Linked DNA regions of Homo sapiens: regions 2 and 3 are each linked to region 1. The links are contacts of gene promoters, found by promoter capture Hi-C in blood cells and fetal thymus (Javierre and others, 2016). All regions are on one chromosome and are shown on one strand. The core of a region is centred on a gene start or on the middle of the fragment in contact, and the rest is flanking DNA. Distances in the headings are between cores, read along the strand shown.

The links. Contacts are between HindIII fragments. The CHiCAGO score rates a contact against its expected background, and 5 or more counts as called.
Region 2: a contact is called between a fragment that was not itself captured here and the fragment with the promoter of CHMP1B in region 1, in 1 of 17 cell types (fetal thymus). The highest score is 5.9, in fetal thymus.
Region 3: a contact is called between a fragment that was not itself captured here and the fragment with the promoter of CHMP1B in region 1, in 3 of 17 cell types (neutrophils, total CD8 T cells and total CD4 T cells). The highest score is 9.0, in neutrophils.

What each region holds. Positions count from the first base shown.
Region 1 is chr18:11,850,134-11,852,683 of GRCh38, forward strand. It overlaps CHMP1B (charged multivesicular body protein 1B), which reads left to right and starts at 1,280. Exons shown (of 1, transcript NM_020412.5): 1 at 1,280-2,550. The coding sequence starts at 1,379. The coding sequence ends at 1,978. All of the region lies in intron 5 of GNAL (G protein subunit alpha L), which reads left to right. RefSeq lists enhancers at 1,133-1,372, 1,641-1,690 and a silencer at 1,697-1,991. The HindIII fragment of the contact is 8,099 bases long and covers 1-2,550 here.
Region 2 is chr18:9,474,931-9,477,480 of GRCh38, forward strand. RALBP1 (ralA binding protein 1) reads left to right here and starts at 583. Exons shown (of 10, transcript NM_006788.4): 1 at 583-761. RefSeq lists a silencer at 514-923 and enhancers at 547-1,415, 1,154-1,213. The HindIII fragment of the contact is 672 bases long and covers 951-1,622 here.
Region 3 is chr18:9,619,447-9,621,996 of GRCh38, forward strand. No RefSeq gene overlaps it. Among named protein-coding and RNA genes, the nearest start is that of PPP4R1-AS1, 5.9 kb to the left of the region's middle. The HindIII fragment of the contact is 2,301 bases long and covers 128-2,428 here.

The DNA of each region.
Region 1 (2,550 bases), core at 30-2,529:
TCTCCCCGCTGGCCGAATGACGCAAATAATGCTCAAATTCCATGCTGCGGTTTGCTTTGACTGGCGGAGGTGGAGGGGCGCGAAAGACGAGCCAGCATGCTGCACAGCAGGTTTAGCCTCCATGCCCGGGGTTTGGAGCAAGAGAGTGAAAACATCAGAGCTATGTCTTCAGAAGGTCTTGTGTTGTGAAACTGACTGGCAAGCTATCACAGGAAGCTAAGCGAGGTGGCAGGCTGCTAGATTAAAATGATCTCTAAACAGAATTCGCTCTCAGAGTTCATTTTCAGCCTACCTCATTAGGGCAGATTTGGTCTTCTCACATTGTTATTGCTGTATCGGAGGAATCTTTCTAAAGAGAAAAGTGACAGCACACATTGCTGCCATTTGAAAGCCAGCATTTTTAAAGGGCGTAATACATAGTGACAGTTTTGATGTATGCCCGTGGGTGTGGGTCCTGATATCTCAACATACTCTGCCTGCATAATTTAAAATGACAGTTTAGCCTGTCAAACTTAAATGTGAGTGAAGTTCCTTGGATATTTATAAAACATCAAAAAGACAGAATGGTGTCAGCAAAAGATGGGTCTTTTTATTACTAAACCACGGGACGATTTTTGGATAATTGCTGGCAACTCACCTAGAAGCTGAACTTCCAGACAAAGTATAAATTTGGTGGTGCCACAGTTTTGAAGATTATTTTCACTCAATGCAATAAAAGGATATTACAGAACTCTAGCACAAATTGTAGTCAAAGATGGAGACGCGTCAATGACCCGTTTGTTTTTAATGTGTTTTAATGTTTTTGTTTTTAATGTATCCATGGTTTCCAGTTCCCCTGAGAAAGTGGAAATTACCCATGCTAATAAAGCAAGCGTTAGTGCGAAGACCTAGCTGATGTTTGGCTGGTTTTTAGCCCGCTAGCCAGTCACCCTTTATAAAGCCTGCCAAGTTTGGAGCGTGGGTAATTTTACACGCGGGTCTCCACAGATCCTGTCTACTTCGGTAGATTTATTACTAGGAAAGTGCGTGGGGGCACTAATTTTTGTGAATTGACTAATGCGTTAGAATTTTAAAAACCGGGTAGAACGCAGCGCAGGAAGCGAGCGTTCCCCGCCGCAGCGCCGGAGCGTCCAGCCAGAATCCCCCTGCATGCGCAGCCCCTGGCGTCTTACGTCCCACAGGCCCCACCCCGGCGCCTTCCGTCCCGCAGGCTCCGCCTTTGGCGCTGGGCTCTGACGTCACCACCTGCGCCGCTCACAGTAGAAACAGGAAGTGGGACCAAAACAAAGGAGCGGCGGCCGGGAGCGGACTTACCTTACCTTCTCTGCCTTCGGCGCGCTTCTCAGCCGGGCCGCCGACCCAAAGGAGCCGTCCGACTATGTCTAACATGGAGAAACACCTGTTCAACCTGAAGTTCGCGGCCAAAGAACTGAGTAGGAGTGCCAAAAAATGCGATAAGGAGGAAAAGGCCGAAAAGGCCAAAATTAAAAAGGCCATTCAGAAGGGCAACATGGAAGTTGCGAGGATACACGCCGAAAATGCCATCCGCCAGAAGAACCAGGCGGTGAATTTCTTGAGAATGAGTGCGCGAGTCGATGCAGTGGCTGCCAGGGTCCAGACGGCGGTGACGATGGGCAAGGTGACCAAGTCGATGGCTGGTGTGGTTAAGTCGATGGATGCGACATTGAAGACCATGAATCTGGAGAAGATTTCTGCTTTGATGGACAAATTCGAGCACCAGTTTGAGACTCTGGACGTCCAGACGCAGCAAATGGAAGACACGATGAGCAGCACGACGACGCTCACCACTCCCCAGAACCAAGTGGATATGCTGCTCCAGGAAATGGCAGATGAGGCGGGCCTCGACCTCAACATGGAGCTGCCGCAGGGCCAGACCGGCTCCGTGGGCACGAGCGTGGCTTCGGCGGAGCAGGATGAACTGTCTCAGAGACTGGCCCGCCTTCGGGATCAAGTGTGACGGCAGAACCCGCTCTGAGGTTTCCTGGCCATAGCCACCCTTTGAAATGCTCTCTGTGTGTTAGAGAGATACTATACCCTAGAAACTCTGAACACGCCAGAATGCTGAAATGCCCTTCTACCTTTGGGTTTACAGCCCCCTCCACATAAATTAAGAAATTCAGTATTTCTGCACTCTTAGCTGGATTCTAAAGTTCTGTATAGCTCGTAATGATGGTATTTTTATAGCAGCCTTTTAACAGAACTAGTTAATTTCGTGTATATGAATCTTTCTCGAAGATCTGGTCAAAACTGTATTCAGTTTCCTGCCCAGAATGATCAGATTGAAGGTGGTTGGTTTTTATTATTATTTAGTGTGATTGATAGTATCTAGAATGGCAGGTGGTGCATAAAAGTTAAAGAGAGGGGAAAGATTACTTAGTTTGGTTATACAGTTATAAACACCATGCAGTGTATTCGGTGGACTGTGCTATTTCTGTTTATCCTTTGGGTTTTGGTTTTTGTTTTTTTTTTTTTTGCCTTCACAGTGAGACTGCAAATGATTGTTCTCATAACGTATATTATTAATAAATG
Region 2 (2,550 bases), core at 37-2,536, 2.4 Mb before region 1:
CGGCGCTCTTTCCTCCAATCCCACACCCAGTCGAAGGCGGGGCAGCCGCCCCACCCAGCGGCCAGCCGGGCGGCCCCCAGTCTGGTTTAACTGGTTGGAACGACTAAAGCACGCTGGCGCAAGGAAAGCTCTCAACTTCGGGAGCTGAGGCGCAGGCTGGCCAGAGCGTGGAGAGGAAAGCCCTTTCCATCCTCAAGGCCGTTGCAGGAGATGCCCGCGAGCCACCTTCGCCAGCACCACACCGGGGTAAGCCGTCCGTCCCCGAAACCCGCAAGGCCACCGACTGCGCAGGCGCCTGCAGAGCACTGGCCCTCGGCGCGTTCTCTCGCGCTCTTCTTCAGTCTCCTCAGCGAGCCTGGGGACGAAGGGGGCGCGGTGCCTCCTGGGTGTTGTAGTTTGCTTCCTTGGCGAGAGGCCTTCGGGCTGGCTGGACGCCGGGGCCTTGGGAACTACGCCTCCCAGCGCGCCCCGCGCGAGAGCCCAGGTCGCCTGCCCTTGACGGCTTCAGCCGTCTGAGCGGAGAGGAGGATCCGGGAAGCCGGCTGCGGCGGGAGGAGGGAATGCGCGTGCGCGCTGGACCGCCTCGTCCCGTTCCGTCCCAATCATTGTAAACAGGCAGAGGCTGGGCGGGGTGGGAATGGGGCGCCCGAGGCCGGCCTGGGGCGCAGCGCAGGAGGCGGCTCCGGTGGCTGCGGCGGCAGCGTGAGCGCGAGGAGGCGGAGGCTGCGGCGGGGCGGACGGTCGCGCGGCGGCAGGCACAGGTCAGTCGCAGGGAGCGGTCGCGTGCTAGGGTCGCGGCGATACCCCTGGAGTGCCCGAGGAACCCTCTCCCGCGCCGGCCTCGCGCCCGCGTCTGTCAGGCAGCGTGTGGGGCTCGGTGCTCGCAGCGCTCGGGTTTGAAGTTGGGGGTGGGGGGCGTGGCTGCCCCTGGCGTGGGTTCCTCCCCGGAAAGCTTCGCCCCAGTTTTCGCCCCCCTTGGCCGTGCGTCCCTCCCACTGGCCGACGGGCCTCCCTTCGTGGCGTCCTCGTTTGTGGTGCTCTCGGGGGCCGGGGGTGGAGAGTTAGGAGTCCCCAGGCCTCGGGGAAGCTCTTGGGGGGCGCCTGGACAGAGGCTAGGGGACCCAGCCCTCACGGTTGGTGGATCGTGCCCGGCATAGTGGCCAGGCTCCAGGGCTTACCCAGGGGACCAGGACAGGCTCCTGGTGTCGCCCACCGCTGGCACTGAGCAGTGGGCGCCTTTGGGTGCTGCGATCCTTCCTTCAGGTTTCAGTGGGAATGGACAGACAGATCTGAAGTTGAAAATTCTTTTCACAACTCATGTTCAACTATGTGTGTTGTCAGAATGCTCTTAATGAGGTCAGTGTTCTCCCTCTTTTTTTTAAAACTGATCGTTGTGAGAGTGAAACAGGTTTTACAGAATATTTAACACCTCCGTCTTCCCTGAAGTAATTCTGCTGTTTCAAGTTTTGGGATTCAGTATTACAAAGCCTTCCTCTTGAGCAAGGCCTAGTACAATTCTTCAAGGTCCCTAGCATGTTAATTCGAGGTGTTTTGAACGTGCATATACAGGAAGTGCAGCCGTTTGGCCGTTGAGTTAGTGCTCCATCCAGCCTTGTTAGAAAAGCTTTCGCTGAATTTTTAATTTAGTGGAGTGGTCATGTTCTAATGCTGCAGTACTTTGGGGAGTATTCCATTATACTTGGCAGTTATTAACGAAATACTGAACTTGTGATAAGGTTTTGTTTTGGTGCTCAGCATTTCTAAATGAATAAGTGGGACTGTGAATAAGAAAGATCACCTCACTTTCTGTTTTTAGAGTTATTGTGGTCATTTGATAACTCCTTTCTGTCTTTGTGAAAATAATTACTGTAAGCTGGAGTGGCGGTAGTAGGGGTAGGAAGGAGGTCAGTAGAGTGGTTTCCACCTCTCATTCAAAGTATCTGGTAGATCCAAGTGGGGTAGGTTAGTTAACAGTAGCTTTTTTTTTTTTTTTTTAGTTTTTTATTTTTTGAGACAGAGTTTCGCTCTTGTTGCCCAGGTTGGAGTGCAATGGCATGATCTCAGCTCACCACAGCCTCTGCCTCCTGGGTTCAAACGATTCTGCTGCCTCAGCCTCCTGAGGGGATTACAGGCATGCGCCATCACGCCCGGCTAATTTTATATTTTTAGTAGAGACATTTTCTCCATGTTGGTCAGGCTGGTCTTGAACTCCCGACCTCAGGTGATCTGCCCGCCTAGGCCTCCCAAAGCGCTGGGATTACAGGCGTGTGCCACCGCGCCCTGCCAACAGTAGTAGCTTTTGAGAAGTGACTCTTTAAACAAGGTATCTCGAAACAATGTAATACAACTTAGTTTGCTTTCTCTTCAGGATATTGTTTCTAATTATGGATCTTATCCAGACTATTTCTCCCCTAATTTAGAATAGGAAAGTGGTATCAGAAAGTGCATAATAACTTTAATTTGTACAGTTATATTTGCATAGTTGTTTGCTTGGCAAGAAGAGATCGGGCCCAGCATGTAACCCAAAAGAATATTGTTTCTGTTTTGAAA
Region 3 (2,550 bases), core at 28-2,527, 2.2 Mb before region 1:
CCTACACAATTTGTTCCACACATTTTAATTTCATTAAGAGAAAACAAAGATGTTTAAACAGTGAGCACTAAATGGATTAGAGTGGCAGTAGTAAATTTCCTTTGTGCCTTTCTCTTAGAATTTAGAAAGCTTTAGTTGCAATCCCATTCAAAGCAATATGGGAGAGGCTTCCACAATGCCTGGCACAGAGTACGTGTGGAGGAAATGCTTATCATTTTAGATGCTTATTATTTTAAATGTTTAAATGTTTATTATTCTGAATCTGAATGGATGAGTCAAGTTGAACCAGGAAATAAACCATAGCAAACCACATATTCAAACCCAGATAAGTTCAGTGGTTAACTGCCCTGACTCTAAGCTCCCTTCACACTAAGGCTGCTCTATGGTAATATGATTCAGAAGAAATTACTTCCATTCTCATTTCACTTCTCTGTAACTGTTTGTAACAAATTGCTTGTGTCTCTGGTCCTTGGTTCCTTCCTTTGGTGGGAAAAATATTAGCACAATGACACAATATAATTCCCAGACTAGATAGCTAATACATTTTCTAACTTTTTATTTAGAAACAATTACAGATTTACATGAAGTTTCAAATGATGTGCCAGGATGTCCTATGTCACTTTCACATCAGTTCCCCCAATGGTAATATTACCGTATATATGAAACATTTTTCAGAGCGTGTGCCAGGCATCATGTTAAGCGCTTTTTCTTTTTTTTTCTTTTTTTCTTTTTTTTTTTTTTTTCTGAGATGGAATCTCGCTCCATCACCCAGGCTGGAGTGCAGTTGCACAATCTCAGCTTGCTGCAATCTCAGCTTGCTGCAACCTCCGCCTCCCGGGTACAAGCGATTCTCCTGTCTCAGCCTCCTGAGTAGCTGGGACTACAGGCGCCCACCACCATACTCAGCTAATTTTTGTATATATATATATATATTTTTTTTTTTTTTTTGTACAGACGGGGTTTCACCATGTTGGCCAGGCTGGTCTCAAACTCCTGACCTCAAGTGATCCACCTGCCTCGGCCCCCCAAAGTGGTGGGATTACAGGTGTGAGCCACCGCGTCCAGCCTGTTAAGCACTTTTATGTGCTTTCTGATTATTTAAAACAGCCCTGTGAAGTAGAAATTGATATTACCATTTTAAAAATAAAGGAAATCGAAGCTCAGAAAGGTTGGGTATTTTGACAAAGATCAAAAAGCAAATGACCTGGCACAGTGGCTCACACCTGTAATCCCAGCACTTTGGGAGGCCGAGGTGGGTGGATCATTTGAGGCCAGGGGTTCGAGACCAGCCTGGCCAACATGGTGAAACCCTGTCTCTACTAAAAATACAAAAGTTAGCTGGGTGTGGTGGCACATGCCTGTAATCCCAGCTACTCGGGAGGCTGAGGCATTAGAATCTCTTGAACCCAGGAGGTGGAGTTTGCAGTGAGCCGAGATCACACCACTGCACTCTGGCCTGGGTGACAGAGTGAGACTGTCTCAAAAAAAAAAAAAAAAAAGAAAAGAAAGAAAGCAAGCAAGCAAGCAAATAGGGGAATTAGTATTCAAACACTGGAATCCTGATTCTAAATAATGGCAATAGCGTTTGCGTATCCTCACATTCATAGCTTTTCTGTCAAAATGGTCCTTCGTCAACTTCTTTCGCATTAAGAGAACTTCTAGTCTTTCAACATGTATGGTCTTGGTATAATCTCTAATTCCATCTAAGTTATCACTGTTCCCTGAGGATTTTGTCATTGAAACATTTTAGGAGTCACCTCTTCACTCCGTTTCTCACTCAATATCCTGACCAAGATATTAACCACTTCAAAACCATACTAATAACTTTTTAACTAGCCTGTTTCAATTATTCTGGCCAAGTATACAAAAATTATCTTTCTCATATAATATTTTGTTCATCACAATTCTGTGAAATTCCCAAGCAAGTGCCTTAACAGTGTCCTCTCACCAGCTGCCCTTGGCTTGAATGGCTGCAGTTTGCCACCATTTCATTATTCGGACAAATCATCCAGGTAGACAATCTTGAACTCAGGTGCCAACTCACTTCTCCCTCAAACGATGTTCTTGGTTTTTTAGGAGGTTTTGTTGTTGCTGCTGCTTGTAGGTATGTGGCAGGTGTTGGGAGGGGTGGAATTCTACATATTTTTTTTTTTTTGAGATGCGGTCTCACTTTGTTGCCCAGGCTAGTCTTGAACTGCTGGGTTCAAGCAATCCTCCCACTTTGGCCTCCCAAAGAGCTGGGATTACAGGTGTGAACCACCATGGCCGGCCGGAATTCTACATCTTTGTAACATTTATTCTTTTCTGAATTTTCCAATTACAAAAATACATGTTTTTGGAGTGCCCAGAAAAGTATAAAGAAAAAACTAAAATCTCCAAAAATTTAGAGATAATACCCCCAAACAGTTTATGTTTACCTATTTTTTAAAGCTTTCAAAGTCCTATATTTAAAAAAGTTTAGCCTAGGCCGGGCGCGGTGGCTCACGCCTGTAATCCCAGCACTTTGGGAGGCTGAGGTGGGCGGATCACGAGGTCAGGAGATTGAAACCA